2 separate regions of the Homo sapiens genome follow, and region 2 is linked to region 1. The links are contacts of gene promoters, found by promoter capture Hi-C in blood cells and fetal thymus (Javierre and others, 2016). All regions are on one chromosome and are shown on one strand. The core of a region is centred on a gene start or on the middle of the fragment in contact, and the rest is flanking DNA. Distances in the headings are between cores, read along the strand shown.

Region 1 (2,722 bases), core at 65-2,564:
GCAACCTCCTGGGTTCAAGTGGTTCTCCAGCCTCAGCCTCCTGAGTAGCTGGGATTATAGGCACCTACCACCATGCCCAACTAATTTTTATATTTTTAGTAGAGACAGGGAGTCACCATTTTGGCCAGGCTGGTCTTGAACTCCTGATCCTCAAGTGATCAGCCCACTTCAGCCTCCCAAAGTCCTGGGATTACAGGCGTGAGCCAGCACTCCTGGCCAGAAAGACTTAAATTTTGAGACGGAGTTTTGCTCTGTTGCCAGGCTGGAGTGCAGTGGCACCCTCTCAGCCAGCTAACTGCAACCTCCACCTCCCAGGTTCAAGTGATTCTCCTGCCTCAGCCTCCCGAGTAGCTGGGACTTATAGGCGCATGCCACCACACCCAGCTAATTCTTTTGTATTTTTAGTAGAGACGGTTTTACATGTTGGCCAGGATGGTCTCTTATTTCTTGACCTCATGACTCACCTGCCTCGGCCTCCCAGAGTGCTGGGATTACAGGTGTGAGCCACCGCGCCCGCCCGGCCCAGAAAGACATTTAAAAAGAACAGTGGTAGGCAGAGCTGCATGAGAACAATTTTCGTGTCAGTTTCTTCTAGCACCTGTGCTACGTAAATAGAGGGGAATATGGTTATAGTGGCTGCGCTTCAGTTCTGTATTTAACTCAAGGCCTCTGTTAACTCAGAGCTCTCTTTCCTGCCAGAGTGTGGTACATTTATTTAAAACAAGTTTTTGTGTGTCTTATACGTGTTTAAAATACATACAGAACTCTGATTAGGGAGTGTTGTGAACATCTGGTTTCTGAGAATGAATTTAGGTTTCAATAGCAAAAGTCATTGTGGCCGCTCCTTTAGGAAAGTCATTTTTCTCCTATGAGTAGTCATCCCCGGTAGACTTGACTGAAATCCTGTGTTTTAGGAGGATTTGGGGGGTGCCCCTGTCCTCCCTTCCTCTCATTACATTGGGTCAAATTAGTTTTGGGTTTTTTTTTTTCCCACAAGCAGCAAACAACCCTCGGTAAGTTGTTAATTTAAGTGTCCCTGCATGTCTCTTATCACGTACTCCCTTCCCTTTTGTGTAAATAATTTACTTTCTACTCGTGATTAAATACCCTTGTCTGTGAGTGCATACACCCTAGGTTGGGTAGGTGACCAGAGGACCTTCAGCGGTGGGTCCCGGAACTGGGTTTTAGGGACCTGGGAGGGGCGGGAAGAGGGCGGGGCAGGCTGTGGGCGTCACTGAGTGGCCCCGCCCCTCCTTCCGCGACTCGGGCGCCGGTGGCGCCATCTTACTCGGTTGCGGGAGGGGTCACAGGTCAGTGCCGGAGCCTCCGCGAGTGAAGGAAGACGAAGTGCGTGACCCGACCGGCTGTGGTGTTCCAGTCCCCACTGACCAGTAGGAGCAGCAGGGCGTCGGCTTGTGAGGTAGAGGGGTGGGGAGTCTGGCGGCGGAGCAGCAGCTGGGGGTGGGGAGGGGGTTCGGAGGAGAATGGGGAGGGGGCGGAACCTCTGGGTACCGCAGACGTGAGAGAACCCCTGCGGCCTAAGGGGCCGCATCCCTTTCTTCCCAAAACTTTCTCCTTGTCCCTACTGTGCCGAGACGTAAATTTATTTGTATCTTTTTATTTTTCTCTTTGGAAAAAGTAAAACCTGTGATGTGTCATGTGACTGAACTGTCTAGGAGGGAGGGTGAAGATGGGGGGGTTTCTTAGGGCCACCCGAAAGGGTGCAGTGGTGAGCAAGAGGGACAGGCCAGAGTAAGAGGGACAGGCCAGAATATGTATGGAAAGGTAAGGCACTGGCTTGAGGGCTGTCGCCGTGGTGTCTCCATCCTGGATTAAGCATTTCCTCCTCCTTTTCTAGGTGGCTTTTCCTCGGGGCAACCGAGGAAGGCCCCAAGAGGACAATGGATTCTGGAACTCGCCCAGTTGGTAGCTGCTGTAGCAGCCCCGCTGGGCTCTCACGGGAGTACAAACTAGTGATGCTGGGTGCTGGTGGTGTAGGGAAGAGTGGTAGGTAACATTTTCCATTTGACAGGAAGCATGGATGAAAAGTACTTAAATGACCAGATGGGATACTTGCTATCTTGCAATGTTAATACTTAAAATTCTCTCTGTGGGTCACCTTTGTGAGGATTTGACTTTTATTTCTTCTTTTGAAGCCATGACCATGCAGTTCATCAGCCACCGATTCCCAGAAGATCATGATCCCACCATTGGTAAGCCAGATCATCACTTATGTTTCCAAATATACCCCATAAAAATATCTTAATGAATATCAGTAGTTTCTAACTATTTATATTTTGAGGCTTTTTTGGAGTCTAATTCAGATTTATTTAGAAACAAGGGTATCAGCAGTTGGTAAGCAACTGAATATTTCTTTTTTTTTCAGACTTTATGTCATAAGCCATCTTTAGTCTTTGTCTCTTACTGAACATTAATGGGACAACTCTCTTTGTTGTATTTTTTTATGGTTGTATACAGGCCACTTAACGAAGCCTTTTCTTGCTGTCACTTCTCTAAGGGTATGACTTGAGACTCGCTCTGTAACTGTGAGTCAGCTGGTTTGAACTTCCACAAAAGGAAGCAGAGAAACAAGTAGAGCCAGGCTGCTGAACTCTTACAACCCAGACATGCCAAGCCTGGACATCTTGCACTTGGAGCTCTTGGTTTACTTCCTTATACCTTAAGTTCATTACGTAGTAATGTCTTCTCCCATGTCTGTCTG
Region 2 (2,854 bases), core at 146-2,645, 110 kb after region 1:
AGATAAAAGTTTGGATGGAAACAGACTAAGTAGGCTGGGCGTGGTGGCTCACACCTATTATCCCAGCTCTTTGGGAGGCCGAGGCGGGCGGATCACAAGGTCAAGAGATTGAGACCATCCTGGCCAACAGGGTGAAACCCTGTCTCTACTAAAAATAAAAAAATTTGCTGGGCGTGGTGGTGCACGCCTGTAGTCCCAGCTACTCAGGAGGCTGAGGCAGGAGAATCACTTGAACCTGGCAGGCGAAGGTTGTAGCGAGCCGAGATTGCGCCACTGCGCTCCAGCCTGGCAACAGAGCGAGACTCCATCTCAAAAAAAAAAAAAAAAGAAAAAGAAATAGACTGAGTAAATGGCTGGGTAGGTAATGCTAGGAGTAAGTCAGGATAAGTGAATGAAAGAAAATAACAGGTCCTTGAATGTACCTTATGATACTATTAATAGTTATATAGTATATCATTTGGCAAATGTTTGAGTACTTTCTTTATACAAGGCATTGTGCTAGAATCTGTGAGGGATAAAGGAGCATAATCATTTGGTCATGGAATAAAAGCTTTATGAATGACAGGGTGCCTGGCCCATTGTTAGGTTCACAATACATTGTACTTTTTTGTGTGTGTGTGAGACAGGGTCTCACTCTGTCACCCAGGCTGGAGTGCAGTGGTGAGATCTTAGCTCACTGCAGCCTTGACCTCCTTGGCGCAAGCAATTCTCCCACCTCAGCCTTCTAAATAGCTGGGAATACAGGTTTGTGCCATCATGCCCGGCCAATTTTTGTATTTTTTGTAGAGTTGGGGTTTTGCCATGTTGCCCAGGCTGGTCTCGAACTCCTGCGCTCAAGCGATCCTCCTGCCTCTGCTTTCCAAAGTGCTGAGATTACAGGAGTGAGCCATCGCGCTCAGCCAGTATATTGTAAATGAATGAAGTTGTTGAATAAACTCAGATATGCCATCAAAGTGGCATAAATGCTGTTGTAAGATTTTAGAAGAGGACAGGGTAACTTTTGTTTAGGATGATCAGAGACAGCTACATGAAAGAGCTGGTAATTGAAATGGACCTTGGAAAGATTTTTGAAAACAGTGACAGGGAAGAGAGAAGGCATCTGAGTAGAAGTGACATGATATACTCTATATGCTGGATTCTGTAGGATATATTCTTTCCAGAGTTTTCTCTTTTTTCACTGTAAAACTGTAAGAGTAATATATGCTTGGTATAAAGAAATCAAATATTACAGAAATAAAACAATTAAAGCCTTCCCCCCCCCCAAGGAAAATGTACATATCTACATACATGAAATTTTTCATATGATTTTTTTGGGGTTTATGTATCTCTTAGAGTTTATTTATTGGCACTTCATTTTCCTACCAGTCATTTCCAAAGCCTTTGACACCAAGGTTCAAGTTTGGTTCCCCAGAGGGACTACTGATAATACTTTGGTATGCATCTGTGAGAGTTTTCAATGTGTAGTTACTTTTTAGTTTTCCACATTAATGTGGGGATAAAAATAATTAAATTTTAGTCCTAAATTTAAATTTAAGACTTTTCTCAAACATTTAGAAAAGATAGTCCAGGCGTGGTGGCTCATGCCTGTAATCCCAGTACTATGGGAAGCCAAGGCATGAGGATTGCTTGAGGCCAGGAAGTCAAGACCAGCCTGGGAAACACAGTGAGACCTCATTTCTATTTTTTTTTTCTTCGACAGAGTCTCGCTCTGTCGCCCAGACTGGAGTGCAGTGGTGTGATCTCGGCTCACTGCAACCTCTGCCTACTGGGTTCAAGCGATTCTCCTGTCTCAGCCTCCCCAGTAGTTGGGATTACATGCGCCTGCCACCTTGCCTGGCTAATCTTTGTATTTTTAGTAGAGACAGGGTTTCACCATATTGGTCAGACTGGTCTCAAACTCCTGACCTCAGGTGATCCACCCTCCTTGGCCTCCCAAAATGCTGGGATTACAGGCATGAGCCACCGCACCTGGCATTTCTATTTTTAAAATAAAATAAAATTTTAAAAAAGAGAGAGAAAATAACAAGAAGCAAATTGTTTTAAATCTTATCATATTTCTTTTTTTTACCCACCCTCTGTAGTAGAGGGGCTAACAAGCCACAAAATGAAAAAAATTGTGTAAGGAGAAAAAGATGGAGTTTGAAGCTGAGTCATTAACATGCAAAGTATAGAATCAGTTCCTTCATAATTAGCAACTGATATATTATCCCATTAGTCATTCTGATAGGAGTCTAAGCTTCTGAGTTTTCCATTACTCACCCCTTTGACAATCTGATGAAAACTATGCAGCCTTCCCCCAGAAAAAAATGTACATATCCAAATACATGAAATTTTTATATGATTTTTGGGAGATACATATCTTTTAAAGTTTATTGACACTTCCTGTTTCTACCAGGTTCAGAAATCTCCACAAAAAGGAATAGACAGGACAGAGAGTTCTTTTTTTTTTTTTTTTTTTTTTTGAGCAGCAGCAAGATTTATTGTGAAGAGTTAAAGAACAAAGTTTCCACAACGTGGTAGGGGACCCGAGTGGGTTGCCCAAGGACAGATAGTTCTAACCACTTTGTAGGCAGTGAAATCTCAGAGAAATTCATTGTCTTGCTCAAAGTTACAGAATCAATTTGTTATACTCCTAGGAGTAGAACCCAGTTTAATATTCTAGGAACATGTCTCAATCAGACAGGTTTCACGGTAAGTTAAACCTTTTTTTTTTTTTTTTTTTTTCTGAGACAGAGTCTGGCTCTGTTGCCCAAGCTAGAGTGCAGTGGCACAATCCCTGCTCACTGCAACCTCCACCCGGGTTCAAGCGACTCTTCTGCCTCAGCCTCCAGAGTAGCTGGGACTACAGGTACGC

Evidence for each region. Contacts are between HindIII fragments. The CHiCAGO score rates a contact against its expected background, and 5 or more counts as called.
Region 2: a fragment that was not itself captured here is called in contact with the fragment with the promoter of RIT1 in region 1 in 1 of 17 cell types (endothelial precursors); the score reaches 5.3 in endothelial precursors.

What each region holds. Positions count from the first base shown.
Region 1 is chr1:155,909,941-155,912,662 of GRCh38, reverse strand. It overlaps RIT1 (Ras like without CAAX 1), which reads left to right and starts at 1,314. Exons shown (of 6, transcript NM_006912.6): 1 at 1,314-1,420; 2 at 1,859-2,007; 3 at 2,157-2,213. The coding sequence starts at 1,902. The HindIII fragment of the contact is 5,298 bases long and covers 1-2,722 here.
Region 2 is chr1:155,800,721-155,803,574 of GRCh38, reverse strand. The region is part of intron 11 of GON4L (gon-4 like); the gene reads left to right. Among named protein-coding and RNA genes, the nearest start is that of GON4L, 55 kb to the left of the region's middle. The HindIII fragment of the contact is 1,686 bases long and covers 553-2,238 here.